Regions from separate parts of the Homo sapiens genome. Here all the other regions are linked to region 3. The links are contacts of gene promoters, found by promoter capture Hi-C in human tissues and cell types (Jung and others, 2019). All regions are on one chromosome and are shown on one strand. The core of a region is centred on a gene start or on the middle of the fragment in contact, and the rest is flanking DNA. Distances in the headings are between cores, read along the strand shown. Region 1 overlaps CPA6 (carboxypeptidase A6). Region 2 overlaps CPA6 (carboxypeptidase A6). Region 3 holds the start of CPA6 (carboxypeptidase A6).

What was found. Contacts are between HindIII fragments. The study calls those that stand out against the background at their distance.
Region 1: a fragment that was not itself captured here is called in contact with the fragment with the promoter of CPA6 in region 3 in 3 of the 25 tissues and cell types used here (H1 embryonic stem cells, hippocampus and spleen).
Region 2: a fragment that was not itself captured here is called in contact with the fragment with the promoter of CPA6 in region 3 in 4 of the 25 tissues and cell types used here (H1 embryonic stem cells, adrenal gland, bladder and 1 more).

What each region holds. Positions count from the first base shown.
Region 1 is chr8:67,623,920-67,627,261 of GRCh38, reverse strand. It overlaps CPA6 (carboxypeptidase A6), which reads left to right. Exons shown (of 11, transcript NM_020361.5): 2 at 3,011-3,086. Among named protein-coding and RNA genes, the nearest start is that of CPA6, 120 kb to the left of the region's middle. The HindIII fragment of the contact is 4,611 bases long and covers 1-3,342 here.
Region 2 is chr8:67,671,560-67,674,805 of GRCh38, reverse strand. All of the region lies in intron 1 of CPA6 (carboxypeptidase A6), which reads left to right. Among named protein-coding and RNA genes, the nearest start is that of CPA6, 73 kb to the left of the region's middle. The HindIII fragment of the contact is 4,764 bases long and covers 1-3,246 here.
Region 3 is chr8:67,744,423-67,747,888 of GRCh38, reverse strand. CPA6 (carboxypeptidase A6) reads left to right here and starts at 1,529. Exons shown (of 11, transcript NM_020361.5): 1 at 1,529-1,875. The coding sequence starts at 1,760. RefSeq lists an enhancer at 1,203-1,703. The HindIII fragment of the contact is 6,623 bases long and covers 855-3,466 here.

The sequences.
Region 1 (3,342 bases), core at 500-2,999, 120 kb after region 3:
GGTGAAACAAACAGGGCATTTGGGGGTCATGTGGTTTTCACATGCTGAATAAAGAGCTCTTGTTGGGCTTTGGTTACCCGTCATTCCATCAATATAATTTACTGGTTCACAAAAGAGTATGACATTTCATGGGTCTTTCTACATTGCCTTCCTTATTCTCTGTCCTTTGATAAGTTATCAAACAGCAATAAATTCATTTCTAAAGTCACACCTGAGAATTTCTAAAGGCTGGGATGAAATGAACTTTTTGTAACAAAAATGAGAAAACTGGATTTGAGCAATCACTTTCAGGGTTAAATAATCCCAAGGGTAGTTTCTTTGTATCCTGTACTTATTTGCAGAAGAGGAACTGATTGCCAGGTTGAATTATCCATCTTTAAAAAAAAAAAAAAAAGTTATTCTCATGGCTGTAAAACAGCTACAGATTGCTTTTCTTGCACTCTTGAGGAGCTGACAAGGCCCCAGATGGAGGTGTTTTTCAGCAAGCTGTCAAGTGATCCATCCATCAAAAACAGCCATATCACCCAGCCGAGCTTGCTTTCTCTGCCAAGAATTGTATTGGGTCAGATGAGAAAGGCCAGGGTATGATGAATCCAGAAAAAACACAGGTCAGAGAAATGTATATCAGAAAAGAGAAGAGATGTGGTTACATTTAAATTCCAAAGGTTATATTTAGATTTGTTTTACAGTGACTTGACAATTTTTTCCCGGTACTTTCTTTTATTCTTTCCAGAAATATGAACTTCATGACATTGATACTGAGAGGTGGTTTGTGTGATTTTGAGGAAATCAAAGCTGTAAAGTTCTGTTAGAGTAGCAGTCCATAAAACAGTAATTTATTATCAGCAAGCCAAGGGCCTTTTTATTCATAGGCCTAAAGGAGCTATTACAGGATCATTTGAAATAATAAAACTATCATGATTGGAAATAAACACAAAAGCCCTAAAAAATCATTGCCCAGCAAGTCCAGAAGTATCTCTAGGGATCTGATGCCCTCCATATTAGCCTTACTTCATCTTGGAAACTGCTATCCATCTGTATTATCCCACTCTCACACCACTATAAAGAAATACCTGAGACTGGGTAATTTATGAAGAAAATAGATTTAATCAACTCACAGTTCCACAGGCTTAACAGAATGCATGCCTGGGAGGCCTCAGGAAACTTACAATCATAGCAGAAGGGGAAGCAGGGACCTCCACATGGTGGCAGGAGAAAGAGGGAGCAAAGAAGGAGGTGACATACACTTTTAAACCATCAGATCTTGTGAGAAATCACTCACTATCACGAGAACAACAAGGGGAAAATATGCCCCCATGAACCAATCACCTTCCACCAAGCCCCTCCTCCAATTTGACATGAGATTTGGGTGGGGACACAATCCAAATCATATCATCATCTAAGAAGTAAAATGACAGAAAATCATGCAAATTCCATTCTTATTCCTGGTGCACCTTTGGGGTTGGAGAGACAAGTTGTAGGTGAAATAGTAGAGTTTTTGTTTTCTGCTTTATATTCTATTAATAATATTCTACCTTATCTTTAATCATTGTAAAATGCCATAGAGAGTTATGAAAAATATTAATTCCTACTGTGCTTTATTTACTTAGTTTTTCCTTTATATTTCATCTGGAAGCCAATTACTCTCAGCAATCTCCTTTATGCCAATCCATTAATATTTAATAAGCATCTACTCTATGCAAAAGACATTGAATAGTTGTGATTATTATGTGCTAGAGCTGTGCTTCCCAACCTGTCCTCATCATGACACACCTAAAAATTGATAGCCTACTTTTCTGGCACACCTGGGAGACAAGGCCCCCAAAGAGAAACTTTCTGACAGACACAGCAACACCTTAAGTCATCTTAGGTAATTCAGGACCTTTACAGAAAGAACCTTATATTGTGTTCAAATATAATTTCAACTGTGGTAAAACCTTTGTGGTTGTGAAACTGACCCAGTAGTCCTATAGAGATTTTTTTTGATAAACACAGGTGGATTCTTCTGGTCTTAAAGATTGAAACTTATATTTGTTTTATCTGAGTTCCTTCCTCAGAAAGTGACCTTCAGGCCTATCAAAAAGTATCAAAGAACTGAAAGAAACTCACCAGATCACATCCTGACAGTGAGATGCAAGACCCCTCATTCATTATGATTGCTTTCTTGCTCCTCCCTAGTTTCTGCTTGGTACACATTGTTACATTTCTTCCCTGCTATACACACCTGTAGTTTTTGTCCATCAGGGAGATGGATTTGAGACTGAGCTCCCATCTCCCTGGCTGCAGCACCTGATTAAAGCCTTCTTTCTTGGTAATAATCATCTTCTCAGTGATTGCTTTATGTGCAGAAAGCAGCAGGACCTAGACCAAACCCCTGGTGTTTTGGTAACAGTTGTAAACATTGATTTTTAATTTGTATCACTAAAAAATTTACAGCCATCAGTGTCTAACGCCGACGGCCCTCTTGTTTGGCCCCACAAGCCAGGTGGGAAGCTCTGTACCAGAGAAATGAGATGCCCCATAGAGATGGGCTTCTCCTTACTGTTCTCCATGTGGGAAGAATTCAAACCAGAAGCTTTCCCTAGTGTGTGGATTTCACATCCTCTCACTGAAAGTCACATTCCTTTTCAGCATTATGTTTAAAAAAAGAATGACTTTTCTTTCTTCTGTCATCAGAAATTTTCCTTCTTGGTATCTGCTCTGAGCAGCTCATGAAAGTTCCTGTCCCTCGTTGCCACTCTTTTTGTGTTTTTGGCCTTTTTCTGCATTTATAACATTAAATGTGAGTTTGTAATCTTCAAAAGCTGATGAAACACCAAATAGCTTTAAGACAAGAAGAAAAGAACAATGCAATCAGAGAATAAATTGGATAAAATACTTACTGGGCCAGTGAAAAGTTTCACTGTTTTTCTTCTTAAATGCAGAGGCAGTTTTTTAAGAGGTAAGAAAGAGATGACTAATATCTTTATTTTCGAAAAGTAATTATCATCTTTCTTTTCTTATCTTGTAGTGATAAAGTGATAAGATTTATTCCCAAAACAGAAGAGGAAGCATATGCACTGAAGAAAATATCCTATCAACTTAAGGTAATAGAACATCTACACACTTATGGTAGAATTGTGCTTGTGGAGTGTTTACAGGGATTTGCTGACTGGAGTTGAATAATTGGAATTTATTAGCCAAGAAAGTAAAGGCTAAGGAGATAACTTGAAAGAGCTTTTATTTTATTTTATTTTATTTTGTTTTATTTTATTTTATTTTATTTGAGACAAAGTCTCACTCTGTTGTCCAAGCTGAGGTGCAGTGGTGCGATCTCGGCTCACTGCAGCCTCCACCTCCCGG
Region 2 (3,246 bases), core at 571-3,070, 73 kb after region 3:
TTTTCTTTATCTAATCCATCATTGATGGACACCTAGCTTGATTCCATGTCTTTGCCATTGTAAATTGCATTGCGACAAACATATGAGTGCATGTGTCTTTTTGGCATAATGATCTATTTTCCTTTAGGTATATGCCCAGTAATGAAATTTCTGGGTCGAAGGATAGCTCTGTTTTGAGTTCTTCCAGAAATCTCCAAGCTGCTTTCCACAGTGACTTTACTAACTTACATTCCCACCAACAGTGTATAAATGTTCCCTTTTCTCTACAGCCTCGCCAGCATCTGTTGTTTGGGAAATTTAATTTTTCAGTAAATCCACAAAAAGAATCAGTCATACAGTTTCTATTCCTATTCAGAAGACTTTAGGTAGTCATATTCCTGCTATGGATATGAAGCTGGACAAGAGTAGTTTTTCAGTTGTGGTCCTTTGACAAATAACCAGCTTGCCTTGTTACAGCTAAGGGGCTTTAGCATTAAAGCAATCTTGGAGTCGTAACATAACTTTGCACCCAAGGCAGGCATTTTATCTACATCATTCCTCACAAATGCTCAGGTAGTCTCTGCAGTACAGCCTGACTCCTAAGCCTGAGCCCTGAAATCAGACTTCAGTTCAAATCCTGGCTCTGCCACTCACTAGCTATATGACGTTAGGCTTACCCTCTCTGTCATGTCATGACAACTGTAGAATGGAGAGAATAATTCCAGCTATTTCACAACTGTAGAATGGAGAGAATAGTTCCAGCATCATAGGATTGTTCTATGATGGTAACACGGTACATATAAAATGACACAGAATATGGCATATAGTAAATGTTCAATAAATGGTAGCTATGATTGTCATCAACTCAAACAGCCTCCCTTCATTCACCTTTACCTCATAAAGCAACTCTTTCTAGAATGTTCTATATATAACAATTGTATTAAAGGCTTCTTGAAGGAGAAGCCATTTGTTTGTGTCTTTGTTCAACACCAGGCTCCTGATGCTTTCAGTAGTGTCTGGCGCACAGCAGGCATTTAAAAAATATTTGTTAAATGAATTTTATAGAATTAAGTCTATCACACTCTTTTGAGTACTAAAATGCTATTATAGTCTGTGGATAAAAATAATAAAACAAGGCCAGGCGCAGTGGCTCACACCTGTAATCCCAGCACTTTGGGAGGCCGAGGTGGGTGGATCATGAGGTCAGGAGATTGAGACCATCCTGGCTAACACGGTGAAACCCCGTCTCTACTAAAAATACAAAAAAAAAAAAAAATTAGCCGTGAGTGGTGGCGGGCACCTGTAGTCCCAGCTACTCAGGAGGCTGAGGCAGGAGAACGGCATGAACCCGGGAGGCGGAGCTTGCAATGAGCCCAGATCGCGCCACTGCACTCCAGCCTGGGTGACAGAGCGAGATTCAGTCTCAAAAAAAAAAAAATAAATAAATAATAATAATAATAATAATAATAATAAATTGAAAGAGATTATAAAATAAAAATCATGCAACACTGAACATTGAAATCCAAATCCAAATTTAAAATCATTGTATATCATAGTATCCAATGTGAATATCCCTATTTTGCCCCTTCAGGATGTAGTTTGAATGAATGCCGCCAAATACAGTCAGAGAAGAGAGGTGAATGTAAGAAAAACAAGATCCAAAGAATTTAGACCTAGCGTGGGATCTCTGTCTCTTTCATTGAGCAAGGAGGTTTTGTCTCCTTTGTTCTTTTCCACAGTTCATCTTTGTATATTTCTCTCTGGGCTACATTTGATTAGCTGCCCAGTGTACCAGTCCTTTCAAATCATACGTAGTTGCATTGTTTCTTACAGTAGAATTTGCTATTGCCCCCAAGTTTCTATCATCCGTAAGTTTTGAAACTCACTTGGCTACATAAAAAACTGATTTAAAAAAAAAGTTAGTGAAATAATACCTTCCTCTGTAATGCCTGCATCATCCTAGAAGCTTAAAGCTAATGAGGCAGTTAGGGCTTATTTGTTCAAGGAAGACTCTGATTTGGCATTTCATCCATTTTAAAAGCAAAACATCATTTTGTGGGACTTAGAATAAAACATCTTGATTGTGTTCCAAGCAGGACTTTAGACCGGTTTGATGCCTAGGTTAATGGCATTTCAATTATACTGTTTTCAAAATGAAATATAAATTGTTCCGGGTTTTTGTCCCTGTGTGTTCATATTGGGCCCGAGCTCTATGAGAAACCTCCTCCCAAGTATTCTGGAAGACCCTAGGGTGCTGGAGAGACATGGTTGGATTTGACTTGACATGGGAGGGTGGAGTAAAAGGACTCGATGATGGATTGGCTGAGTGATGAGGAGAAGGACAGGAGGACTTGTAGGTTACTGGCTTGAGGAGTGGGATAGATAGTGGTGCCTTTTAGTGAAACAAGGGGAAAAAATGGGAAGAGGAACTGACTTGGGTTGCACAGGAATATAATGGCAATCTATCTAAAAGTTTGTACGCATTGGAAGAAAATTTTACACACGGAGTGGAATGAAAATGAGTTCAAAGACAAAACTATGATATAAAATGTTCCAGTTATATTTAGACTCCTTTGGATACATTGAAAATTGTGATGTATTTTTAAATGTTAATATTTACAATATACTGAAATACTTTGTTCATGCCATTAAACTGATAATGAAAAATATTAGAGCCAACTTAAAAATGCATGAGAAGGCCGGGTGCGGTGGCTCACACCTGTAATCCCAGCACTTTGGGAGGCTGAGACAGGTGGATCACATGAGGTCAGGAGTTCAAGACCAGCCTGGCCAATATGGTGAAACCCTGTCTCTACTAAAAATACAAAAATTAGCTGGCTGTGGTGGTGCGCACCTGTAATTCCAGCTACTCAGGAGGCTGAGGCAGGAGAATTGTTGAACCTGGGAGACAGAGGTTGCAGTGAGCCAAGATTGCACCACTGCACTCCAGCCTGCACAATAGAGTGAAATCCCTTCTAAAAAACATAAAATACAATAAAATTTAATTTAAAAAATAAAATAATGCTGGTTCTCCAAAGTTATTTTGGGAGTACATAAGCAAAAGTGTTTGCAGATCACTGCAAAAGAAAACTTAGGAAACATCCTAGCCTGCACAAAGGAGTTCTAATGTCAAATGTTTTCTTAGCAATAGGGAAATAAAAGCATTTTTCAGAAGCCTTCTGCTTCTGAAGCAAACTATGCATTAGTGTGTTTCAGATTCGAGGAAAGCAAGCCCTTTAGTCAAGTAGCAGAGCTGGGCACACAGGT
Region 3 (3,466 bases), core at 280-2,779:
GGTAGAGAAGATGGGAAAGATTGGGTGCTCTCTCTTCTAACAGGGACTCTGGCTATAGTATTAGAGGGTACAGGAGTTCTTGGCTATGACTCTCCAGGAAGCCTGAAAAGTTTTGTGAGTGTGATGAGGAAATAGTGGCTCACTCTCTGTTTTAGAGCACAACCAGGACTGGGCATGAAAGGTAACAGGAGGCACCCTAGGTGCCTATGCTTATTTAATAGGGCGAGGCACATCCCCTGTAATGGGTTTTGTGGCGTATTGGAATAGGAGCAAGTGGATGCAAATAATAATTTTAAAAAGCTTTCATCATCAACATGGGAAAAAAGAGAAGGAAATGGTTTTCTCCAAGGTTTGCTTGGAAGAAAAAGCAGACCTCATTCTAAAGTGAAGTCTTGCTACTCCAAGTGTGGCTGAAGAGCCAGTGGCACCAGCATCACCTGGAAGCTTCTTTAGAAATGCAGACTCGGCCAGGCGTGGTGGCTCACACCTGTAATCCCAGCACTTCGCAAGGCCGAGACAAGCAGATTGCCTGAGGTCACGAGTTCAAGACCAGCCTGACCGACATGGGGAAACCTCGTCTCTACTAAAAATACAAAAATTAGCTGGGCGTGGTGGTAGGCACCTGTAATCCGAGCTACTCAGGAGGCTGAGGCAGGAGAATCGCTTGAACCTGGGAGGCGGAGGTTGCAGTGAGCCGAGATGGGGACTTGGCACTCCATCCAGCCTGGGCAACAAGAGCGAAACTCTGTCTCAAAAAAGAAAAATAAAAACTCTTAGGCCCCTGTTCCAACCTACGTCAGAGCTGCAGTTTAATGAGATCCCCAGGTGACTTCTATGCATGTGGAGCTCTGAGAAGCCCTGCTCCAGACCAGCATGGTGGTTGAATATTGGAATCACCTAAGGAGCTTTTTAAACCACTGATCCCACCACCACGGTTTCTATTTTCAAGGTCTGGCTCCCTAAATGATTCCAAATGTACAGCCAAGGTGGCAAAGCACTCGAAGGCCTCCTATTCCCCACGAGAACCTCTGAAACAGCAGCAGGTCTGGGTGCTGCTGATGCAGAATGAGTACCAAGATCTCCCTGAAGCCCAATAAAGCCACTGACCACTCCTGTAAGTCAGGAGCAGTGAACTGAAGCCAGCTGTTCGGATCTGGGTGCTATAGGTACCCCCGTGCACGTTCTCATCATGATTGTTCATTGTGCATTTCATTAGGTGGAATCCGTTTAGGAATCTGTCATGGGAGATCAAAAAAACATTAAGCTTGGAATAATCCATGTCTGCTTGTTTAGCCCATCAGACAAATCATTTGCAATTAGGTAGGATCCTCATGCTGAAGAAGATAGAGAAAGAAAGCTTGCACAGAAAAGTTAGAGGCCTCAAGTTGGGAAAGCAAACAAACCAAAAGCAGAGAGGAGTCACCCAAAGGAAGCAGCACCCAGTGAACCCCTGCCGTGAGTCAGCACGAGGGAGGCCCAGCCCTTTCTAGGGGAGCCTGATTAAAGATCAGGCTCAGCTGCTGCTGCTGCTGCTGCTGCTTGTCCCAAGACCAAGTCGTAATAGCAACTTCCCTTCCTCAGCTGCCTGAACTTTTTTTTTCCCTTGTAGCTGGAGAGAAGTGTCACATTTTGCTCACTCTCAACCTTCCTCGCCCACCCCCTTCCCGGAGAACCTGTGCGGTGTGTAGAGGGTGCTGTGAGCCACCTCCAGCCTCGGGTGGCTGCTTAAGTAACTTTCAACTCCTCTCTTCTTAACACTATGAAGTGTCTCGGGAAGCGCAGGGGCCAGGCAGCTGCTTTCCTGCCTCTTTGCTGGCTCTTTTTGAAGATTCTGCAACCGGGGCACAGCCACCTTTATAACAACCGCTATGCTGGGTAAGTGGAGCGACATTCATGCCCTACACAGCTTTGATTTGGATCTGGGGGCTGGTTTGCTCCAGAGTGTGCCTCACTTTTTCTGATTTGGGGGTCTCTGAGTGAATCTGCACACTTTCACGGTCCTCTATATAAAATGTACTCACAGCTCTCTGCTCTTGGCTTTAGCTCACTGAGAGAATGTGGTGGGCTCCAACCTGGCTTTTTATACTTTTTATCATGTGCCAACCTTAGCTGTGGACCCAGGGTTGAATGGGATTCTGTCTTTGGAGTAGCCATGGTCAGTATTTACAGTGTTTGCCTTGGTTGATGCTTGGGGATGCTGTTGTCCTACATGATTTATGACCTGAAAACTAAGCCTTTCTTTACAATTGTATGTAGGAGCGGTGGGTTGAAATTCATCAGTGATTAAGAACTGAGTGTGATTTTTTTTTTGTCTGTGCTTATTAGTCTGTAGAGTGGTTATTAGATTTTTAAATATGAGCAATGCAAATGATTCAACTCAAAATAAGCAGAATAAAAGTAGTCAACTGTAAAATTATGGATAGTTTTTCTGAAGGAAAAACATAGGAGTAAAACAATCAGTTTTGTCCCCCCTCCGTAGGTAAGCATGCTTTCTATATGCCTTTCTTCAGGAGGCAGAGGGCTGGAAGCCGTGTGTTACTATGCACATTCTTATTATCCTGAAGGCTTGCTGTGGTATAGACAGCATGTGATTTGCTCACATATGCAGGGGGTCGTTCTTAGAATCTGGAAATTATGGCTTGCCTGCACTTTAGATCTGGAAAAACCTTAAATACTTCCTCTAGTTCAATTCCTTTTTACAGAGGAGTAAACTCAGTGTCTTACATATTTTTAAATAGGCTACTATCATTCAATAATCACCACCTGAGAAAAGTTTTCATGTAGATCTGGATCATGACAAGGTAGTGTACAGTGTCTTAAAACCAAGTTGTTCTTTTTAGAAATAGTGTAAAAGAGAATTTGTAAGTGTGACCCTGGAAAAGAGAATTGTATTTCTCTTTCTCTCCCAAAGAATCTTGGCACTGCCTTTAGGGTTCCTCTGAATACAGTGCTTACAGAGGAAATTTTGGAAACATGTCCTCAGTTTTAGGGGAGGCAGGATGAGATGGAGGTGTTGGCTGAGGTAGGGGCTATAGATGGCAATATGATCACGGATTTTTCCACCCCAGTATTTCTGGGAGGAACGGAAAGGAGTTAACATCCCAGGGCTGCCTTTTGGCCTGGACATACAAGATCTCAACTTTACCTCCGATAATTTGTGACCCCTTTAGAGATCTGGAAAAAAGAAGCTCATGTTTAAAGACTGATGGTGCAGGCTTGGGTTGTGGGGGACTTAATTCTGACTCTCCTGGCTGATGCCGGGTCAGATGATAAACATAGATCACAGATTTAGACACACGTGTATGACCTAAGACCTCACTCCTCCACTCAGCTGTGGCTCTGTGCATAATTATTTCAGCGTGTGGCACTCCTCCGTGAAAAGTTACCAGGCCTGCTTCAGCTGAGCAGGTGTGCACCCTTCCCTAAGCACCACTTTGAAGAGGAAATGAGGCCAGTGGTGGCACCC